2 separate regions of the Homo sapiens genome follow, and region 2 is linked to region 1. The links are contacts of gene promoters, found by promoter capture Hi-C in blood cells and fetal thymus (Javierre and others, 2016). All regions are on one chromosome and are shown on one strand. The core of a region is centred on a gene start or on the middle of the fragment in contact, and the rest is flanking DNA. Distances in the headings are between cores, read along the strand shown.

What was found. The method cuts DNA at HindIII sites, captures the fragments that hold promoters and counts their contacts. A CHiCAGO score of 5 or more calls a contact.
Region 2: a contact is called between a fragment that was not itself captured here and the fragment with the promoter of ZRSR2 in region 1, in 1 of 17 cell types (M1 macrophages). The highest score is 5.7, in M1 macrophages.

The regions. Positions count from the first base shown.
Region 1 is chrX:15,788,121-15,792,977 of GRCh38, reverse strand. It overlaps ZRSR2 (zinc finger CCCH-type, RNA binding motif and serine/arginine rich 2), which reads right to left and starts at 2,494. Exons shown (of 11, transcript NM_005089.4): 1 at 2,442-2,494; 2 at 1,965-2,044. The coding sequence starts at 2,482. CA5B (carbonic anhydrase 5B) reads right to left here. Exons shown (of 8, transcript NM_007220.4): 8 at 4,567-4,857. CA5BP1-CA5B (CA5BP1-CA5B readthrough) reads right to left here. Exons shown (of 12, transcript NR_160544.1): 12 at 4,567-4,857. RefSeq lists enhancers at 1,007-1,508, 2,167-2,616. The HindIII fragment of the contact is 2,263 bases long and covers 1,708-3,970 here.
Region 2 is chrX:16,215,978-16,220,834 of GRCh38, reverse strand. No RefSeq gene overlaps it. Among named protein-coding and RNA genes, the nearest start is that of MAGEB17-AS1, 50 kb to the right of the region's middle. RefSeq lists an enhancer at 4,504-4,857. The HindIII fragment of the contact is 8,679 bases long and covers 1-4,857 here.

The sequences.
Region 1 (4,857 bases), core at 1,245-3,744:
CCCAGTACTGACACTAAAATAATTACTCAGGAACACCAATGGTAAATAAAACCTCTATGGCTATGTTTCTCAAGGTCCAAGAATCCTAGTTACTTGAGGCCATGGTCTCTGGATTTTAAGAATTGTCTAGGATAATTTCATGAGCATATTCTGGATAATGCGGATGACAATCATTATAAGCCAGTACTACTGTGTGATTTCAGTGCTCCCATCTGGATTTATAACTACTACATAATTTTATAACTAAGTCCTAATTTTATTGCATTAAGCAGGTAGATTTAATACATAAATGTTAGGTTTTGCCATGTGAAGGTCAAATGACCATCTGTACAAATAAAGGTTCTACAGTAATTTCATAGAAAAAGTGGTAAATAACTATAAGGCAACATTAGTAGAGGCATTCCAAACTCCCATCAGTGCCATATACATATTGTGAGGAGCATTAGTTTCACATCATCCCTAGCATTACCTGATGTAGATTTAAATTTTACCGAATGTGTAATTTCATTTAGTTTTATAATTTATAAATGTATTTTTATTTGTTTGTTTGTTTTTTGAGACAGAATCTCACTCTGTTGCCCAAACTGAAGTGCAGTGGCAGGATCTCGGCTCACTGCAACCTCTGCCTCCCAGGTTCAACTGATCCTCTTGCCTCAGCCTCCTGAGTAGCTGGGATTACAGGCACCTGCCACCAAGCCCAGCTAATCTTGTATTTTTAGTAGAGGCAGGGTTTCATCATGTTGGCCAGGCAGGTCTCGAACCCCTGACCTCAGGTGATCCATCTGCCTCGGCTTTCCAAAGTGCTGGGATTTCAGGCATGAGCCACCACGCGCCCAGCCCATATATTGTTTTATAGTCAAACAATGGCTTCAGGTCAGGTGTGGTGGCTCATGCCTATAATCCCAGCACTTTGGGAGGCCGAGGTGGAAGGATTGCTTGAGGCCAGGAGTTCGAGACCAGCCCAGGCAACACAGTGAAATCCCGTCTCTACGAAAATTTTAAAAATTAGCCAGGTGGGCCAGGGGCGGTAGCTCACGCCTTTAATCCCAGCACTTTGGGAGGCTGAGGTGGGTGGATCACCTGAGGTCAGAAGTTCGAAACCAGCCTGGCCAACATGATGGGGTTTCACCCCATCTCTACTAAAAATACAAAAATTAGCCGGGTGTGGTTGCGCACGCCTGTAATCCCAGCTACTCGGGAGGCTGCAGCAGGAGAACTGCTTGAACCCAGGGGGCGGAGGCTGCAGTGAGCCAAGATCGTGCCACTGCACTCCAGCCTGGGCAACAGAGCGAGACTCCGTCTCAAAAAAAAAAAAAAAAAAAAAGAAAAGAAAAGAAAAAATTAGCCAGGTGTGGTGGTGAATGCCTGTAGTCCCAGCTACTAGGGAGGCTGAGGTGGGAGGACTGCTTGAGCCTGGGAGGTGGAGGCTGCTGTGAGCCGTGGTTGTGCACATCCCTCCTGGGCAACAGAACAAGACCCTGTCTCAAAAATAAATAAATGAGCTTCATAACTAGTATTATGTTGATATATATTTGAATAACATAATAATTTGGGTAAACCAAGGGTCTCATATTAGTCAAGTTTGAGAAAAACTTGCAAAACGTCTAATTAATACCTTCAACTCCTGCTGGTTTTACGAAGAAAAACATTCACCGAATACTTACTACGTGTGCAAGGACTGTGCTAGCTGCTGTAATTCATGAAGCTTGCAACTGTAATATTAGATACTTTATAAGTTACACAGAATCAGTGGGCGATCATTCACCAAGACTTCCTCTTCCTGCCTTTAGTATGTTAACATTGTTTCTGACATGTGTTTCTAAATAACTACTTGGGGGCAGAAGTCACAGCTATTTTTCCTCCGACACAATATTTGACTTCCTTCTGACACTGGGGCTTCAAGTTAGGGCTGGAGTGGACAGAGCAATTTCACAACACAGAAAACAGAATAAAGAGTCCATCACCTGAGTCTCTCAGTCGAGCAAGTTCCTGCCGACGTTTCTTTCGTTTCTCCTTCTTCAGGGCGGCCCTGTACTTTTTGTGGCTGGAAGATTAAGACATATACACGACGATCAGCGGCTACAATGCAGCGCTGCCCGAGCTCCCCGCTCCTCTGTGCCCAATGAAAGGAAATAGTTCGGGTGCTGAGGAGAGAAACCTTGCTTCCTGTATTTTAATTACAGAACAGCCATCTATCATCGCCTCATCCTCCCACTCCCAGACAGTTCTTCTCCATCCGCCAACCTGATCCTCTCCTCGCTTGCCTGAGCCACAGCCGCCCGTGCAAGTCCGGGGAGGGCACCAGAGCGCGCACCAGGAAGGAATGGAGCTGCCGCGGTGGCTCACTTAGCTTGGCCCAGCTTCTCTTTTCTTCCTGCCACCACATCCTCCATGCCCACGATCGGCCCGCTCGCCTGCTCATCTCCCCGTACGGCGCTTACCTTGGTTTCTCGGGAAACGTCATCTTCTCGGGCGCAGCCATCTTGCCGGCACCGCCCCGCCCCTCCAGGTCTGGCAGGAAAGGGCGGGCCTAAGAGTCGAGACGGGCACGCGCAGGCGCGGGTACCGAGCAACCTCCACCAGCGTGGGACTTGAAACGGAAAGCCGGAGGTACCCTTCGGCGGCTCGTCTTCCAGAACCCTGCTCAAATAAATACCTCCTTCCAGCAAAAATACTCTGGGGCTTTTACCCCGCCCTAGAAGTAATTGTCGCTTCAGCACTTGCCCAGTGCTGTATCACTGTCTCCCTCCTCGCCCTAGCAGGACGTGTTGTGGCTAGGCGGTTAAAGTCGTACTCTGCCGCTTTTCTCAGCATCCACTCATGAAGTCACATCGCGCACAGAGCTGCTCGCCCGGCTTTATTTCCGACCTGTCCAGGTTCCGCGTCCTTCCGCCGATCCACCTATCAGCGCCTCAGACAAAGCTCCAGACTTCGCTCCCTGCCAGTCACACCTGTTCTGGTCCCTTAAGCAAACCTAACTCCCAGGGCTGCAAAGCTGTTACCTCTGCCCCTGAGGAGTTTACAATCGAGGGGGCAGAGAAGAACCAATACATAATATGATGCAGGCAAAGATGAAGTTTACCTAACATAGTCCACCAAGGGATTCAGGGAGAGCTCTCTTTTTTTTCCTTTTTTCTTTTTTTTTCAGTATCACATGCGACTCAACTGCAGTATCAGGGACAGCTTTCTGATGCTAAGAGTTGAGTTTGGAAAGAAGATGCCCTTTACCCAGAAGGAGAAGGGTGGGAATGCAGTTACAGTCAGATCAGCATAAGCAAAGGCGCTGAAAGGTGAAAGTGGAATATGCTGGGAACAGCAAGAATTTTGGCAATCGAATTTATTTATTTATTCATTTCTTATATATTAGAGACAGGGTCTTGTCTTTCACCCAGGTTGGAGTGCAGTGGCGCAATCACGACTCGCTGCAGCTTCGACCTCCTGGGGTCAAGCAATCCTTCCACCTCAGCCTCCCGAGTAGCTGGGAATACAGGCGCGAGCCACCACGCCCGCCCAGCTATCCAATTTAAAGTGCAGTTCGAGGCTGGGTGCAGCGGCTCACGCCTGTAATCCCAGCACTTTGGGAGGCCTAGGCGGGTGGATCACCTGAGGTCAGGAGTTCGTCAGCCTGGCCAACATGGTGAAACCCCGTCTCTACTAAAAATACAAAATTAGCCGGGTGTGGTGGCACATGCCTGTAGTCCCAGCTACTCTGGAGGCTGAAACAGGAGAACTGCTTGAACCCAGGAGGTGGCGGCCGCAGTGAGCCGAGATGGCACCACTGCCCTCCAGCCTGGGCAACAGAGCAAGGCTCCGTCTCAAAAAAACAAAACAAAATAAAGTGCAATTCGAGAATATCAAGGAATATAGTTGTTGTGATGGGCTGGGAGGGCTAGGTTAAGGAGGGCCTGGTGTGCCATGTTAAGACGCTCTGTTTACATTCTGTAGAGACAACAGTGAACCGTTGAAAGCTTTTTAAATAGAGGCTTATTGTGGTTGTGTTTGTGTTTTAGGTAAATCACTCTGCTTTGCAATATAAAGGATTTAAAAGATAAAACTAGAGTATCACAATAATCTAGGTGAGAGGTGTTGAGGAATTAAACTGGGGCAATGAGAGTAGGGATTGAGAAACTAAAAATCATCCCAACTAATAATCAGACTGTAATGTACACATACAAGGCCAGGGACAAGGCCAAGCAAAAAATGTTCCTCACAAGGATGCATTACAGCTGTAAAATGACTAATAACCTCTATCTTTTGAGTGATTGAATAGCTTCCTTGGCCTACCTTTGTTCCGTTCTCCTCCAAATTAAAGTTTCTGAGATACTCAATTACTAAACTGCCTTCCTTCCCCTAATCCCTCCTTAGAATTACTCAGCTGAAGCCCAAACTCTGCATAAAACCTCACCCTAATCTCTCTTATACTGACACACTTGGAGCAACACATATGCCCTTCACCCCCAAGTTGACCTTGTCCAGCTCAGTGCATTGGTTGGCTGTGATCTTGAGTAAATTCCTTAATGTCTACTCCTGTTTTCTCATTTGTAAAAATCAAGATAGTAATAATAGTTCCCATCTCATAACCCTTTTATTGTGAAAACTGAGTAAGATAAGCCATGTTATATGCTGATACAGTGCCTAGCAATAGTGAATGCCTCCAAAACTTTAGCTGTTACATCATCTCATCACCATCATCATTAGTGTGAAAACTTCCTGACCCCTCAAGAGGGGATGAGGCGCTGTATGCATTTCCAGTACAAGTATTCCACCTTTTATAACATCTATCATGGTTTACTACACATTGTCACCTTTACCTTTCTGCTTCTTGACTAAATCTTAAACTAAACTCTCTAGTTGGAG
Region 2 (4,857 bases), core at 1,315-3,814, 430 kb before region 1:
CCCCACCCTATAACCCTCCTATTACCTCCCCTCCTCACGCCAGGTCTGGCTTACAGTTTCATTCCACGACTAGCCCTCCCCAACCTGCCCAACAATTTTCTTTTAGAGAGGTAGCTGGAGCTGAAGGCATAGCCAAGGTTAATGCTCCTTTTTCTTTATCCAACCTCTCCCAAATCAGTTAGTGTTTAGGCTCTTTTTCATCAAATATAAAAACCCAGCCCAGTTCATGGCCCGTTTGGCAACAACCCTTAGACACTTTACTGCCTTAGACCCAGAGGGCCCAGAAGGCCGTCTTATTCTCAATATGCATTTTATTACCCAACCCACTCCCGACATTAGAAAAAGCTCCAAAAATTAGATTCTGGCCCTCAACCCCACAACAGGACTTAATTGACCCTGCCTTCAAGGTGTGCAATAAGAGAGAAGAGTTGCAATTACTTGCCTCTGCTGTGAGAGAAACCCCAGCCACATCTCCAGCACACAAGAACTTCAAAACATCTGAACCGCAGTGGCCAGGCATTCCTCCAGGATCGCCTCCCCCAGGAGCTTGCTTTAAGTGCTGGAAATCTGGCCACTGGGCTGAGGAATGCCTGCAGCCCAGGATTCCTCCTAAGCTGCGTCCCATCTGTGTGGGACCCCACTGGAAATCGGACTGTCCAGCTCACCTGGCAGCCACTCCCAGAGCCGCTGGAACTCTGGCCCAAGGCTCTCTGACTCCTTCCCAGATCTTCTTGGCTGAGTGGCTGAAGACTGACACTGCCCGATCGCCTCAGAAGCCTCCTGGACCGTCACAGACACTTTGGGTAACTCTTACAGTGGAGGGTAAGTCCGTCCCCTTCTTAATCAATATGGAGGCTACCCACTCTACATTACCTTCTTTTCAAGGGCCTGTTTCCTTTGCCTCCATAACTGTTGTGGGTATTGACGGCCAGTCTTCTAAACCTCTTAAAACTCCCCAACTCTGATGCCAACTTGGACAACATTCTTTTATGCACTCTTTTTCAGTTATCCTCACCTGCCCAGCTCCCTTATTAGGTCAAGACATTTTAACTAAATTATCTGCTTCCCTGACTATTCCTAGGCTACAGCCACACCTCATTGCCGCCTTTTTCCCCAGTTCAAATCTCCTTCACATCCTCCCCTTGTATCTCCCCACCTTAATCCACAAGTATGGGACACCTCTACTCCCTCCTTGGCAACCGATCATGCACCCCTTACCATCCCATTAAAACCTAATCACCCTTACCCCGCTAAATGCCAATATCCCATCCCACAGCACACTTTAAAAGGATTAAAGCCTGTTATCATTTGCCTGCTACAGCCTGGCCTTTTAAAGCCTATAAACTCCCCCTTACAATTCCCCCATTTTACCTGTCCAAAAACTGGACAAGTCTTACAGGTTAGTTCAGGGTCTGTGCCTTATCAACCAAATTGTCTTGCCTATCCACCCCGTGGTGCCAAACCCATATACTCTCCTATCCTCAACATCTCCTCCACAACCCGTTATTCTGTTCTAGATAAACCTAGTTGACCCCATAAATCCTAAATCCTTTCCCCACTCCCCTTTCCATTCCTTAAAAAACAGCCCTAAAAGCTGCTCCCACACTAGCACTCCCTAACTCATCCCAACCCTTTTCATTACACACAGCCAAAGTGTAGGGCTGTGTGGTCAGAATTCTTACACAAGAGCCAGGACTGCACCCTGTAGCCTTTCTGTCCCAACAACTTGACCTTACTGTTTTAGCCTAGCCCTCATGTTTGCATGCAGTGGCTGCCACTGCTTTAATACTTTTAGAGGCCCTCAAAATCACAAGCTATGCTCCACTTACTCTCTACAGTTCCCATAACTTTCAAAATCTATTTTCTTCCTCACACTTAACGCATATACTTTCTGCCCCCAAGACCCTTCAGCTATACTCACTCTTTGTTGAGTCTTCCACAATCACCATTGTTGCTGGCCCAGACTTCAATCCGGCCTCCCACATTATTCCTGATACCACACCTGACCCCCATGACTGTATCTCTCTGATCCACCTGACATTCATTCCATTTCCCCATATTTCCTTCTTTCCTGTTCCTCACCCTGATCACACTTGGTTTATTGATGGCAGTTCCACCAGGCCTAATTGCCACTCACCAGCAAAGGCAGGCTATGCTATAGTATCTTCCACATTTATCATTGAGGCTACTGCCCTGCCCCCCTCCACTACCTCTCAGCAAGCCAAACTCATTGCCTTAACTCAGGCCCTCACTCTTGCAAAGGGACTACTTGTCAATATTTATACTGATTCTAAATATGCCTTCCATATCCAGTACCACCATGCTGTTATATGGGCAGAAAGAAATTTCCTCACTACATAAGAGTCCCCCATCATTAATGCCTCCTTAATAAAAACTCTGCTTAAAGCTGCTTTACTTCCAAAGGAAGCTGGAGTCATTCACTGCAAGGGCCATGAAAAGCCATCAGATCCCATTGCTCAGGGCAACACTTATGCTGATAAGGTCGCTAAAGAAGCAGCTAGCTTTCCAACTTCTGTCCCTCATGGCCAGTTTTTCTCCTTCTCATTGGTCACTCCTATTTACTCTCCCACTGAAGTTTCCACCTATCACTCCCTCTCCACTCAAGGCAGATGGTTCTTAAACCAAAAAAATTTGTATCTCCTTCCAGCCTCACAGGCCTGTTGTATTCATAACCTCTTCCATGTAGGTTACAAGCCATTAGCCTGCCTCTTAAAACTTCTCATTTCCTTTCCATTGTGAAAATCTATCCCCAATCCGCCACTCTTGACTCCCTCTTGGAGTGGATAGATGATCTTTGCTGACAGGACACACTCCAACACTTTCACCCTGATGAAGTCCTATTCTTTACTTTTATACTCACTCTTATTCTCGTTCCCGTTCTTATGCCACCCTCTACCTTTCCCCAGCTATCTCCACCACACTATCAATCTCACTCACTCTCTCCTAGCCATTTCTAATCCTTCTTTAACAAACAATTGCTGGCTTTGCATTTCTCTTTCCTCCAAAATCACCGAGGCCTCGATTTACTCACTGCTGAAAAAGGAGGACTCTGTATATTTTTAAATGAAGAGTGTTGTTTTTACCTAAATCAATCTGGCCTGGTATATGTCAACATTAAAAAAAACTCAAGGATAGAGCCCAAAAACTCTCCAACCAAGCAAATAATTACGTTGAACCCCCTTGGACACTCTCTAATTGGATGTCCTGGGTACTCCCAATTCTTAGTCCTTTAATACCTATTTTTCTCCTTCTTTTATTTGGACCTTGTGTCTTCTGTTTAGTTTCTCAATTCATATAAAAACCACATCCAGGCCATCACCAATCATTCTATACGACAAATGCTCCTTCTAACAACCCCACAATATCACCCCTTACCCCAAAATCTTTCTTCAGTTTAATCTCTCCCACTCTAGGTTCCCACGCTGACCCTAATCTCGCTCGAAGCAGCCCTGAGAAACATCGTCCGTTATCTCTCCATACCACCCCAAAAAATGTTCGCTGTCCCAGCACTTCACCACTGTATTGTTTTGTTTTTCTTATTAATATAAGAAGACAGGAATGTCAGGCCTCTGAGCCCAAGCTCAGCCATCATATCCCCTGTGACCTGCATGTATACATCCAGATGGCCTGAAGCAACGGAAGATCCACAAAATCACTGAAAATAGCCTTAACTGATGACATTCCACCATTGTGATTTGTTCCTGCCCCACCCTGATACATATATTCTCCCCTGCCCTTAAGAAGGTACTTTGTAATATTCTCCCCGCCCTTGAGAATGTACTTTGTACGCCTATCCCAAACCTATAAGAACCAGTGATAATCCCACCACCCTTTGCTGACTCCTTTTTCGGACTCAGCCTGCCTGCACCCAGGTGAAATAAACAGCCTTGTTGCTAACACAAAGGCTGTTTGGTGGTCTCTTCACACAGATGCGTGTGACACTAACAGCTTTAAGTATGAATTATTTTAAGTTTGAAATATTTTATTTCACAGACCCTACAAAAATCTCATGTTAAAATTTGATTCCCAATGTTGGAAGTTGAACCTAATGAGAGATTACTGGGTCATGGTGGCATATCTGTCATGAATGTCTGGGCGCCACCCTCACAGTAATGAGTGAGTTTTCACTCTATTAGTTCCTGCAAGAACTTGTTAAAAAGAGTGAGGCACCCCTCCCTCCCCGTGTCTTTTTGCTTCCTCACTCACTATGTGATCTCTGCACACACTGGCTCCCGTTTGCCTTCTGCCTTGAGTGAAAGCAGTCTGAGGCTTTCACCAGATGCCCAATCTTTCAGCCAGGAGAACCATGAGCCAAATAAACTTCTTGTCTTTATAAATTACTCAGCCTCAGGTTTTCCTTTATAGCAACACAAATGGACTAAGACATGGCACTCGGGCATGCTAAATGCTTTTGAAAATTGAAAGGCCTCAGAAATAAGCCTCAGAATCAAGGTCCCTCTAACCTTGTTCCTCTCCCACCCAGTGTAGGGAAGAACTCTCTCTGGAAGTTCCTTATCTGACCAAGAAAATTTATTATCAAAAGAAACACAACTGTCTTCTATCCCCTCCCAGTTACCTTATCTATTGCAGAAAAGAAGACGGAAGAATGCAGCCACACCTGGATGAACTTTTCCATGAGATAATACCTGCCTCTTGGGTTCATTAAAATTCCAAAGAGATTCACATATAAGTTAATTTATCTCTGGTTCATTCATTCTTCCTAATAATCTCTTATTGTCCCTCAAAATAATTGTCTACATTTCCCATCTCCTCCCTCCTCTACAGAAAAAGGGTATATAAGGTTCTATATCCCATTGGGGGGTGGAGTAATCACTC